Linked DNA regions of Homo sapiens: all the other regions are linked to region 4. Evidence: promoter capture Hi-C in 16 types of primary human blood cells and fetal thymus (Javierre and others, 2016). All regions are on one chromosome and are shown on one strand. Each heading gives the region's core, a stretch centred on a gene start or on the middle of the fragment in contact. The rest is flanking DNA. Distances are from core to core; before and after follow the strand shown. Region 1 has its middle 15 kb from the start of CNOT1. Region 2 overlaps CNOT1 (CCR4-NOT transcription complex subunit 1). Region 3 overlaps LOC105371293 (a long non-coding RNA gene). Region 4 holds the start of GINS3 (GINS complex subunit 3).

Region 1 (3,266 bases), core at 514-3,013, 250 kb before region 4:
GATCGAGACCATCCTGGCCAACATGGTGAAACCCCATCTCTACTAAAAATACAAAAATTAGCTGGGCGTGGTGGCGCGTGGCTGTAATCTCAGCTACTTGGGAGGGTGAGGCAGGAGAATTGCTTGAACCAGGGAGTCGGAGGTTGCAGTGAGCCAAGATCCCGCCACTGCACTCCAGCTTGGTGACAGAGTGAGACTCAGTCTCAAAAAATAAAAAAATACAAAAAATACAAATATTAGCCGGGTGTGGTGGTGCACACCTGTAGTCCCAGCTACTCAGGAGGCTGAAGGGGAGGATTACCTGAGCCTGGGGAGGTGAAGGCTGCAGTGAGCAGTGATCATGCCGCTGCACTCCAGCCTGGGTGACAGAATGAGACCCACCTCAAGTTGGGGATGGACAGTAAGAAAGAGGCTCTTGTGGCAGGTGGGGGCCTTGTAAGCCATGCAAAGACTCTATAGGGAGCCATTAGAAGGATTTTAGCAGGAGGATAGTTTATGGAGGAGCAGGGCAGAGTACAGAGATGGAGACCAGTCAGGGCCTGCTGTGGTCCAGGCAGAGATGACAGCAACACATGGACTAGAGAATGAGAACATGGGAGACAGAGATCAATGGGAAGAGTGGGGATATATTCAGAGGATAGTGATCAATCTCTGACCTTGATCCTCATTCCCCTCTACTGCAATCTGAAAGGTGTCAGCTGCTCTGAGGTTCTGAGTATGGCTCTGTGTTAACCCTGCAGGAGGCAATATAGCCAAATGGCTACAAGTGTTAGGTCTGGACATCACACCAACCTGGGTTTGAATCCTGGCACTGCCTCTGACTGACTGTGGCCTTGAGCAAGCTCTTTACCATCCGTTTACCTCAATTTCCTTGTCTGCAAAATGGGATTGACAGGCCAGGCATGGTGGTTCATGCTTGTAATCCCAGCACTTTGGGAGGCTGAGGCAGGTGGATCACCTGAGTCCAGGAGTTTGAGACCAGCCTGGCCAACATGGTGAAACCCTGTCTCTACTAAAAATACAAAAATTAGCCAGTCATGGTGATGCATGTCTGTAATCCCAGCTACTTGGGATGCTGAGGCAGGAGACTCGCTTAAACCTGGGAGGCGGAGGTTGCAGTGAACCGAGATCGTGCCACTGCACTCCAGCCTAGGCAATGGAGTGAGGCTCTGTCTCAAAAAAAAAAAAAAAAATGGTAATGCACAGAGTAGTACCTGCTTCACAGGGTTACAGTAAATAAAGAAGACAATTAAAATAAAGGACTCAAGGTAGAGTGTGGCACACAGCGAGCACTCAGTCAAGGTGAGTCATTATCACTGTCATGATCAAGTAGAGGCATTTACTTGTCCCTCCTGGTTTTAAGCCAATGACACTGATGGAATTTGGTTACAATGGCCTCGTTGGCAAAGAATAAGTTCTGTCTCCTTCCAGTCCTTATCTTTGGCACCTTGTGGTACATCTACCTGTAAGGCAGGTGGCTCTCTGCCATCCTTAAGTCAGAGACAGGTGATGCCGCCATGCAGGCCAATTTAGAAATGGCAGGAAATGGGGTGACTTCCATGGGAATGGAGGTGGGTCCAGTGGCCCCCTGCTGTCACTGTCTGACTTTCCAGACTTTTGTCCATAGCCTCTGGCCATTCCTCACATCTACTGCTGCTCTGAGGGCACCTGCAACTTCAGCAACACAGAGAACCACTGCCTGAGAGCGGTGAGTCACCCCCTCTCCTCAGAGTCACAGGAAGGTTAGAATGAGGGAGTCTCGGCCGAGAGCAGTGGCTCACACCTGTAATCTCAGCACTTTGGGGGACTGAGGCGGGCGGGTCACCTGAGGTCAGGAGTTCAAGACCAGCCTGGCCAACATGGAGAAACCCCATCTCTACTAAAAATACAAAATTAGCCAGGTGTGGTGGTGTATGCTTGTAATTCCAGCTTCTCAGGAGGCTAAGGCGGGTGAATTGCTTGAACCCGTGAGGCGGAGGTTGCGGTAAGCCAAGATCGTGCCATTGCACTCTAGCCTGGGCAACAAGAGTGAAACTCCATCTCAAAAATATTAAAATGAGACAGGGTCTCCGCTATGTTGCCCAGGCTGGTCTGGAACTGCTGGGCTCAAGCAATCCTCCCACTTTGGCCTCCCAAAGTGCTGGGACTACAGGCATGAGCTATTGCACTTGGCCAGGGTGTCTCTTTCTTGCTCAGGTGTCAGAAGAGCAAAAGAAAAAGAGGAGCTCAGAACCCCAGTGCATAGTGCTGTACACACACACACACACACACGCACACATGCACACACACACACACATGCACACACACACAAATACACACACACTCTTCCAATTCATAGTTTACAAAGCATGACATTTCCTCCTTTGCACCATACAGCAACACTGTGAAGCAGGCAGATTGGTTGGGCCCACAGTGTTGTTTTAAAAAATCATGTTCCAGCCGGGCGTGGTGGCTGATGCCTGTAATCCCAGCACTTTGGGAGTCCGAGGCAGGCAGATCACGAAGTCAGGAGATCGAGACCATCCTGGCTAACACAGTGAAACCCTGTCTCTACTAAAAATACAAAAAAAAATTAGCCGGGCATGGTGGCGGGCGTCTGTAGTCCCAGCTGCTCGGGAGGCTGATGCACGAGAATGGCATGAACCTGGGAGGCAGAGCTTGCAGTGAGCTAAGATCATGCCACTGCACTCCAGCCTGGGTGACAGAGCAAGACTCCGTCTCAAAAAAAAAAAAAAGAACAAGAACAAAAAAAAAATCATGTTCCTAGGCCAGGCCCAGTGGCTCACGCCTGTAATCCCAGCACTTTGTGAGGCCAAGGCAGGCGAATCACCTGAGGTCAAGAGTTCAAAACCAGCCTGGACAACATGGTGAAACCCTGTCTCTACTAAAATTACAAAATTAGCCGTGCGTGATGGCACACACCTGTAATCCCAGCTACTCGGGAGACTGAGGCAGGACAATTGCTTGAACCCAGGAGGTGGAGGTTGTGGTGAGCCAAGATTTCACAATTGCACTCCAGCCTGGACAACAAGAGTGAAACTCTGTCTCAAAAAAAAAAGTTTTATATTTCTGGGCTGGGCATGGTGGTTCATGCCTGTAACACCAGCACTTTGGGAGGCCAAGGCGGGTGGATCACCTGAGGTCAGGAGTTTGAGACCAGCCTGGCCAACATGTTGCAACCCCGTCTCTACTAATAATACAAAAATTAGTTGGGCGTGGTGGCATGTGCCTGTAATCCCAGCTACTCAGGAGGCTAAGGCAGGTTA
Region 2 (3,016 bases), core at 1-2,500, 230 kb before region 4:
TCAAGTCATATATATTAACTGAGGCATTTCTTTAATGACCCTCTGACCAAACTAAAACTTCCTGCTGTGAAGTTTCAAAATGGCATCCCATTGAGTGACTCTATATATAGAAGAATCTAGCAATTCCTTTTCTGTTTGCTCACAATTTTAAAGATGAATCTTTGAAAGTTAAAAGGGGCTCAACACCTTCTGCCCCCCAGTGTATACAATAGTTTTTTTTTTTTTTTTTTTTGAGACAGGGTTTCACTTCAATGCCTAGGCTGGAGTGCAGCGGCACAATCCCTGCTCACTGCAGCCTTGATATTCTGGTCTCAGGTCAGTCTCTCACCTCAGCCCCTGAGTAGCTGGGACTACAGGTGCATGCTAACCACACGTGTCAAAAATTGTTTTTTTTCTTTTTTTTTTGAGAGAGAGTTTTGCTCTTCTCCCTCAGGCTGGAGTGCAGTGGTATGATCTTGGCTTGCTGCAACTTCTGCCTCCCGGGTTCAAGTGATTCTCCTGCCTCAGCTTCCCAAGTAGCTGGGATTACAGGTGCGCGCCATCATGCCTGGCTAATTTTATATATATATGTTTTTTTAAAACAGGGTTTTGCTCTTGTTGCCCAGGCTGGAGTGCAATAGTGTGATCTCTGCTCAGTGCAACCTCCGGCTCCTGGGTTCAAGTGATTCTCCTGCCTCAGCCTCCTGAATAGCTGGGATTACAGGCGCACGCCGCCATGCCCGGCTAATTTTTTGTATTTAGTAGAGACAGGGTTTCACCACGTTAGTCAGGCTGGTCTCGAACTCCTGACCTCAGGTGATCCACCTGCCTCGGCCTCCCAAAGTGCTGTGATTACAGGCGTGAGCCACTGCCCAGGCCTGTATTTTTAGTAGAGATGGGGTTTTACCATGTTGGCCATCTGGTCTTGAACTCCTGACCTCAAGTGATCTACCTGCCTCAGCTTCCCAAAGTTCTGGGATTACAGGTGTGAGCCACTGCGCCTGGCCTAATTTTTGTATTTTTTTGGTAGAGGTGAGGTTTCACTGTGTTTCCCAGGCTGGTCTGGAACTCCTGGGCTCAAGCGATCTGTCCACCAAGACCTCCCAGAGTGCCGTGATTACAGATGTGAGCCACCATACTGGCCTATGATACTTTTTTTTTTTAAGTGTACTTTTCACTCAAATTTGCAAGAATGTAGCAAACCAAATAAAGCATTGTTCACTGGAAAGCGTAGTTTGAGAAGGCAGTAATTAGAGGTGTAGACTTAATATGAAGCCATTTGTTGAGTTTTTTCGTTTGTTTGTTTGTTTTTTAAGATGGAGTCTTGCTCTGTTGCCCAGGCTTGAGAGCAGTGGTGTGATCTCGGCTCACTGCAACGTCCGCCTCCCAGGTTCAAGTGATTCTCCTCCCTCAGCCTCCCGAGTAGCTGGGATTACAGGCGCGTGCCACCACGGCTGGGTAATTTTTGTCTTTTTAGTAGAGATCTGGTTCACCATGTTGGTCAGGCTGGTCTCGAACTCCTGACCTTGTGATCCACTCATCTCAGCCTCCCAAAGTGCTGGGATTATAGGCGTAAGCCGTCGCACCCACAGTGATTTAAAGGAATGTAGTGTATATATTTGAGAAATGCATTTATATCTTTAATTCTGGAAAACACAGCATTAACTAACCTCCAGCATACCTGTTGCTTAACTGTGTTACAGTTGTTACAGGGAAATTCCTGAAATGTTGAATACGTTGCAACCATGTAGGATAATTTTTTGTTGATTCTGAGAACATAAACTTTCTTCCAGTATATTCTCACACCACCAGATGTGTGGGGTTTTCCCCTGCGCATCAAGCAAGCTATTCAGCAGTGGACACCACATGGGTATCCTCTAATTCAGTATTATTCTGACACGGTGTACCTGAAGATAGCATCAGATCCCACAGGTTGAAAGCTCAAGTCCCATAGACAGTCCCCCACTTCCAATGCTAATCTCAAGTCCCAGGTGGTTTTACCTGTGTTTCTGACCAACTGACTATAAATTGAGTTCCTAATACCCCCTTCTTTTGTTCAGTTAACTTGCTAGAGTGGCTTATGTAGAACTCTCGGAAATACTTAGGGTTTTTTTTTTTTGGAGCCGGAGTCTTGGCTCTGTCACCCAGGCTGGAGTGCAGTGGCACGATCTAGGCTTGCTGCAACCTCTATCGCTCTGGTTCAAGCGATTCTTCTGCCTCGGCCTCCCAAGTAGCTGGGATTATAGGCATGCGCCACCACACCTGGCTAATTTTTTATATTTTTGGTAGAGATGGGGTTTCATCATGTTGGTCAGGCTGGTCTCGAATTCTTGACTTCAAGCGATCGACCCACCTCAGCCTCCCAAAGTGCTGGGATTACAGACAGGCATGAGCCACTGTACCCGGCCAACACTTAGGTTCAAGAGTTTATTATAAAGGATATGGATGAGGAGGTGCGTAGGAGAAGTAAGGGCCGCGGAGCTTCCATGCCCTCCCCTGGCTACACTGTGCCTCAGCTATCTGGAAGCTCTCTGAACCCAGTCATTTATGGGCTTTTATGGAGGCTTCATTACAGAGGCACAGTTGGTTAAATCATTGACCTTTGGTGGTCACCTTAACCCTTAGCACCTTTTCCCTCCCTGGAGTTTGGAGGAGGTGGGGCTAAAAGTCCTAATCCTCTCATCTTGCCTTGATCTTTCAGGTGACCAGCACCCATGCAGAAACTACCTAGAAGTTGCCAAGCTATCAGTCAACTCAGCATACAAAAAGAAACTTACCATTCTAAGGATCTTAGAAGTTGTATGCCAGGAAATGGGATGAAGACCAAATGTATATCTCACAATAAATATTACAGTAATGTTGAAGTAATTATTTGAAATATAAAAGTGGGATGGAAGTATTTTCTTTTCTTTTTTTTTTTGGAGGCAGAGTCTCGCTGTATCCCCCAGGCTGGAGCGCGATATCGGCTCACTGCAACCTCTCCTTCCTGGGTTCAAGCGATTCTCCTGCCTCAGCCTCCTGAGTAGCTGGGATTACA
Region 3 (3,156 bases), core at 342-2,841, 150 kb after region 4:
AAAAGAAAGAAAGAAAGAAAAAAAAAACATTTACATTGTAGAGTTTATAAGTGAAATGTATGACAATGATAGTAGAGGAGAAATGGGAGTGTGATGGTATAAAGTTCTTATACTATACATAAAGTGGTATAATAACACTTGAAGATAGACTGTACTAAGTTAAAGAAATGTACCATAAACCCCAAAGCAATGACAAAAATGACACAGCAAAGACATAAAACTAAAAGAGTAGCTTTAACTCTAGACTGAATGTCTAGACAATGTGGTAGACAGAACAATGGCCCGCAAAGATATCCAGGTTCTAATCATTGGAACCTATGAATATTACCTTGTAAAGGGGGAAAAGGTCTTAACAATTTTAGCGATTAAGTTAAAGGTCTTAAAATGGAGTGGTTATCCTGGATTATGTAAGTGGGCCCTAAAAGCAATCACAAGTGTCCTTACAAGAGGGAGGCAGAAGGAGATTCTACTACAGAAGAGAGAAAGCAATGTGACAACCTCAGCAGAGAGAGACTTGAAGATGCTATGCTGTGGACTTTGAAGATGGAGGAGAGGGCCTAGGAGCCAAGGAATGCAAGGAATGAAGCTCTAAAAACTGGAGAATTCTCCCCTTAAGCCTCTAGAGAAAATACAGCCCTGCTGAGTGAGACCCATTTTGGACTTCTGGCCTCTGGAACTATAAGAGAATAAATTTGTGTTGTTTTAAGCCACAAAGTTTGTGGCAATATATCACAATAGCCTATGAAACTAATACAGCTAAGTCAACAAAGGAGATAAAGTGGAATTATAAAATATTCGAATGGATCCAAAAGAAGGCAGAAAAAGGGAAATATAAACAAAAAGAACAAATAGAAGCAAGGCAATAAAGAAAAAATAGATAAGTTGGACTTATTAAAAACTTTTGTGCTTCATAGAACACCATCAAGAAAGTGAAAAGACAATCCACAGAATGAGAGAAAAATTGCAAATCATATATATGATGAGAGATTTATATCCAGGATACATAAAGAACTATTATTACAACTCAATAATTAAAAGATAAGCAAATAGGCCAGGCTCAGTGGCTCATGCCGGTAATCCCAGCACTTTGGGAGGCTGAGGCGGGCAGATCACTTGAGGTCAGGAGTTCAAAACCAGCCTAGCCAACATGGTGAAACCCTGTCTCTACTAAAAACACAAAATTTAGCCAGGTGTGGTGGCGGACATCACTTGAACCCGGGAGGCGGAAGTTGCAGTGAGCCGAGATCACGCCATTGCATTCCAGCCTGGCAACAAGAGCGAAACTCCGTCTCAAAAAAGTAATAAATAAATAAGCAAATGATTTGAATGGACATTTATCCAAAAAAGATATACAAGTGATCAATAAGCACATGAAAAGATGCCCAACATCATTAGTCATCATGGAAGCATAATATATAATAGAACATATAATATATAATTAAAAAGACAGATAAAAACAAGTATCAGTAAGAATGTGGAGAAATTGGAACCCCCATAAACTGCTGGTGGGAATGGAAAATGGTGCAGCTCCTTCAGAAAACAAAGTTTGGTTGTTACTAAAAGGCTAAACATAGAGTTACCATGTGATCCACCAATTCTACTCCTAGTATATACTCAAAAGAAATTAAAACACATATCCATGCATGAACTTGTACATGAATGTGCACAGTGGTATTATTTAAACTAACCAAAAAGACACAAATGCCTATCAACTGATGAGCAGATGAACAAATGTTGTATCTATAAAATGTAATATTATTTGGCAATAAAAAACGAATGAAGTATGGATACATACAACAAGGACAAAGCATGAAAACATTACGATAAGTAAAAAGAAAGAAAATCACAAAGGACCACATATTGTATGATTTTATGTATATGAAATGTCAAAAATAAGCAGATACATGGAGACAAGAAATAGATTAGTGGTTGTTTATGGCCGGGATAGGGAAAATGAGGGATAAGTGATGAATAAGGCATGTGGAGTTTCTTCTGGGGTAAGAAAAACGTTCTACAATTGACTGGGGTGATAGATGCACAACTTTTGAATATAGTAACAGTCACTGAATTTACTCTTTAAGTGGGTGAATTGTTAAGTATGTGAATTATATATCAATAAAGCTGTTTTTAAAAAAGAATAAGTAGAAAATATCAAGATGGTAGATTAAAATCCAACCATATCAATAATTACACCAAAGGGAATTGGTCTAAACATTCTGATTAAAAGGCAAAGGTTATCTGATTGAATAAAAAAGCAAAACCTAAATACATGCTGCCTATAAAAAATACACTTTAAATATAAAGACACAAGTGGGTTAAAAGTAAAAGGGAAAAAGATGCAAACACTAGTCAAACAATAATACAAACACCAAAGAAAGGTGAAGTAATTATGTTAATATCAGACATAGTAGATTTCAGAGCAAAGGATATTACCTGTAATAAACAGGGTCAGTTTATAATAATAAAGGGATGAATTCATAAAGACATGATATTTATGCATCCAATAAGACAGCTTCAAAATCCATGAAGCAAAAACCAATAGAACTGCAAGAAGAAACAGACAGACGAATTCACAATTAAAGACTTCAAAGATATCAACACCAATCTCTCAAAAATTGATAGGCTAAATGGACATAAAAATAAGTAAGGAAATAGAAGATTTGAGCAGCTTTATTAACTGAAGTGTCCTAACGGACATTTCTGAAACACTCCACCCAACAACAGCAGAACTCACATTCTTTCCAAGTGCACACAGAACATTACTAAGAAGACCATATTCGTTAAACAATAAATTTCAATACATTTAAAAGTATTTGCCATACAAAGTTATGTTCTCTCACCACAATAGAATTAAATTAGAAATGAAACAGAAAGACATTTGGAAAAACCTCTAATATTTAGAAACAAGATAACACACTCTTAAATCACAAATAGGTTAAAAAAATCAATAAGGAAATTAGAAAGTACTTTAAATTGAATAAAAATTAAACACCATATATTAAAATCAATAGTATGCATCCAAAGCAGTATTTAGACACAAATTTAAAATACTAAAATGCCTGTACTGCAGAGAGAGAGAGAGAGAGAGAGAGAGAGAGAGACCACCTTCATGGATCACAGCGCTAAATATTAAGCTATCAGTTATCCTGTAATTAA
Region 4 (3,237 bases), core at 639-3,138:
AAACAAAAAAACAAAACCAAAAACAAAACTACCCCCAAACCAAAGATTTCCAACTGAGGAACATTTTACAAAATACCTGACCACCACTCCACAAAACCGTCGAGGTCATTAGAACAAGGAGGTCTGATTAATTGTCACAACCAAGAGAAGGCTAAGGAAACATGTCTACTAAATGCAGTGTGGTATCCTAGGTGGAATCCTAGAATAGAAAAAGGGCATTAACTAAAAACTAAGGAAATATGAATTAAGTATGGGCAGCATAGCGCCATGTTTACCAGTGTGTATGGGAACGAAATCCTCATCTGCTAGGATGAAGTCAACAGATAATGTCTACATTAAAAAAAACAACCCAACAAGGTAAGTTTAAGAATATTATTTAGAAATATGAAGATGAATCTTGAAGACACCACTAAAAAAGGTACATGAGCCCTGTGGACTTGGAGGGGGAAGTGGGAAAAGGAAGGCAGGACCTGCTATTTTTTTTCTTATAAATCTTTTGGTACTATTTGACTTTTTTTTTTTTTTTTTTTGAGATGGAGTCTCACTCTGTCGCCAGGCTGGAGTGCAGTGGCACAGTCTCGGCTCACTGCAACCTCTGCCTCCTGGGTTCAAGAAATTCTCCTGCCTCAGCCTCCAGAGTAGCTGAGATTACAGGCGCCGGCCACCACACCCAGCTTTCTAGTAGAGATGGGGTTTCACCATGTTGGCCAGGATGGTCTGGATCTCTTGACCTCGTGATCCGCCCGCCTCAGCCTCCCAAAGTGCTGGGATTACAGGCGTGAGCCACCGCATCCGGCCTATTTGACTTTTAAAACGTTGGTTATGTATTACTTTGATAAAAATTAACTTGAAACAAACAGACCAAACAATAAACATCGTTCTATACAAAACTTAGGTGAAACAGGATATCCAAATTAATCATTACAAGCCATGTTCCTGGGACAATTTTATATTTGAAGCCATATGGCCTTGGGTTCCGAATCCCAGCTCACCACTAACTGAAGCCCTGGCCAAGTGACCCAGCCTTTCTGGTTGCTGAAGGATTAAAGGGAAAAGCTTACTCCCCACACCCAACCATGCTGCCACTAAGTAAGCCTCAGTAGGGCTTACTGATCCTGTCATCATTATGGAGGAATGAATTTAGCAACTTGGGGTTCCTACTTATCACATGCTCTTACAGAACCCAAAGCTGTTTTAAGGCAAACATGATCAGAACTCTAATTCTTAAGTATTCAGCTGGAGCCAATCTTTAAGCATTCAACACACGTTGCATGGGGTAGGGGGAAGACACTAATTTGGACAGTTTCAAAAAAGAAATCAATGTTGGAGGCTGCCTGGCGACCTAGGATAAATGTAGTTTCACCACAGATGGCGAACAAGAAGTCTGGAGACCACCCCGAGCGCGAAGGGACCCCCGCGGAGTTTCCGAGAAGTCGTTAGCGCCTTCGGCCCTGGCTCCTCGAAAACTACAAATCCCAAAGGGCAGCGCGCCCCGATGCGGCGTCCCAGGGCCGAGGGGCCCGCCGGGAGCTGCAGTCTTTCCGGGCAGGACCCCGCACCCAAAGGCTCACCTGTGGGACCGCGTTGTCAGTCTCGGCGCCTGCGCTCCGCTCCAGGAAGAAAGCGCCAAGGCGAGGCATGGCGGTCTCCGTGCGCACCGGCAGCTTCTCGTGGGACATCAGGATGTCGTCCAAAGAAAGAAAGTTCTCCTCAGGCCCCAGCGCACCCGACTCCACTCGGAAATAAGCCTCTGACATGGCGGCCACTTGAGCTTCTCCGCTTCCACTCGCGTGATTCGGAGGAGCCTCAGGAGTTAGGGGTGTACAAGACGGGGAAGCGGAGACTGGGCAGGATGGTTGGGGTCAGGAAAGTGGATTGAAACTCGTTTCCCGCGCCCGGGGACGCATCAGACAGGAGCAGTCAATTCGGGCGGTACCGCCCAGGCAGAAGCAATCGATCAAGTCTGCAGATTTAGAGCAGCGGGACACGGCTGGGGAGCGGTAGGTGGGGGCGCCGGAAGTTCTCTTCCCTCCGCTTGCTGCACGGTGTGGGAACGTTACGAAGAAGCTGGAACGCTCGTTGAAGCTCCTGGACCCATTTGTACTGGATTGTGTTCATGTGATCCTTAACTATTTATATGAAATTAAAAACACTTTGCAACACTTTTAGGGGTTTAAAATAAAAGCATCTTGTGCCCTTCACTCCAGGCCTAAGTCCGACCCTTTCCTACAGTTTTTTTCACTATGCAACTCCGTTAATCTTAGTATTTGAAAGAAATGTTAAACAAACAAAAACTTCCAGCACTATCCCCAGCGAGTTATTATGGTCTAGATGATGAACTAGTGTGTTGTATTTTGTTAGTATTTTGGTGGGGGTTGGACGGGGTGGGTAGAGGGGTGGAGCACTAGACTGCACATGGCTTGCTAAGGTTGTGAGTATACTTCAGGGTGTCTTAGCTCATCATCAACTGACAATCTCCTTTTGTGGCTCTGAATTTAAATCCCTAAAAATGGAAATCCAATTGGTCCAGTTTATTGATTGGTCCAGGTACGCCACAATGGTCATAGATCTCCAGCCACCCTGTAGATGGGGGTGCCTGTGTTGGGTGCGATCACTATCCAGTGACCAGGGGAAGGACCATGGTCGCATAGTACCAGGTTTGGTGGCTCTCCTCAGCCAGGGCTATGGGTGGCGGCATATTGTTGAGAGATGCACTACAGAACTTACTTCGTCTAGAGCATTTCTGGGGCTACTGGAGCCGGGAGTAAAGGGTGTGTGTGAAGGGAGGTGTGTATTAACCATGGATTTTAGTTTCTGTTTTCTGTATTTTATGATGCTTTGACATCTTGGGGCCTTGGGGACCTGGGGAGGAATTGCCCCTTTCAGAGTTAGCTAATTCCTAGAGATAGCAAACAACTTGCTTGTGAACACCCCTTTCATTTACAAACCAACCAACCCAAGCCTATATCCCCACACCATCTTTATCCATCTCACACACCAATATTTTCCCTGCCCCAAGTCACTGTAATAAACCACCCCATGGCCAAGTACCAGACAACTAAAATTCACCTCTATATCCCAGAGCTTGCCAACATTATTCAAATTATTCAATCCTAAGCTTGTTCAGACTTCCCTTCCCTGCTTCGCCCATTCCTTCCCACGGCAATAAAGGCTCTGGGCTTTCTCCTCGCTCTCTCTACCTCCTCATTGACCCTAATACTTTCTCGTGTGGCCGTA

The links. The method cuts DNA at HindIII sites, captures the fragments that hold promoters and counts their contacts. A CHiCAGO score of 5 or more calls a contact.
Region 1: a fragment that was not itself captured here is called in contact with the fragment with the promoter of GINS3 in region 4 in 2 of 17 cell types (activated CD4 T cells and naive CD8 T cells); the score reaches 6.2 in activated CD4 T cells.
Region 2: a fragment that was not itself captured here is called in contact with the fragment with the promoter of GINS3 in region 4 in 10 of 17 cell types (non-activated CD4 T cells, naive CD4 T cells, activated CD4 T cells and 7 more); the score reaches 12.9 in non-activated CD4 T cells.
Region 3: a fragment that was not itself captured here is called in contact with the fragment with the promoter of GINS3 in region 4 in 2 of 17 cell types (naive CD4 T cells and non-activated CD4 T cells); the score reaches 5.4 in naive CD4 T cells.

What each region holds. Positions count from the first base shown.
Region 1 is chr16:58,643,354-58,646,619 of GRCh38, reverse strand. No RefSeq gene overlaps it. Among named protein-coding and RNA genes, the nearest start is that of CNOT1, 15 kb to the right of the region's middle. The HindIII fragment of the contact is 7,485 bases long and covers 1-3,266 here.
Region 2 is chr16:58,623,074-58,626,089 of GRCh38, reverse strand. All of the region lies in intron 1 of CNOT1 (CCR4-NOT transcription complex subunit 1), which reads left to right. Among named protein-coding and RNA genes, the nearest start is that of CNOT1, 5.2 kb to the left of the region's middle. The HindIII fragment of the contact is 4,558 bases long and covers 1-3,016 here.
Region 3 is chr16:58,239,214-58,242,369 of GRCh38, reverse strand. All of the region lies in intron 3 of LOC105371293 (a long non-coding RNA gene), which reads left to right. Among named protein-coding and RNA genes, the nearest start is that of CFAP263, 9.1 kb to the left of the region's middle. The HindIII fragment of the contact is 4,235 bases long and covers 1-3,156 here.
Region 4 is chr16:58,391,122-58,394,358 of GRCh38, reverse strand. GINS3 (GINS complex subunit 3) reads right to left here and starts at 1,888. Exons shown (of 3, transcript NM_022770.4): 1 at 1,572-1,888. The coding sequence starts at 1,757. RefSeq lists enhancers at 1,095-1,671, 1,576-2,065, 1,672-2,249. The HindIII fragment of the contact is 2,062 bases long and covers 1,059-3,120 here.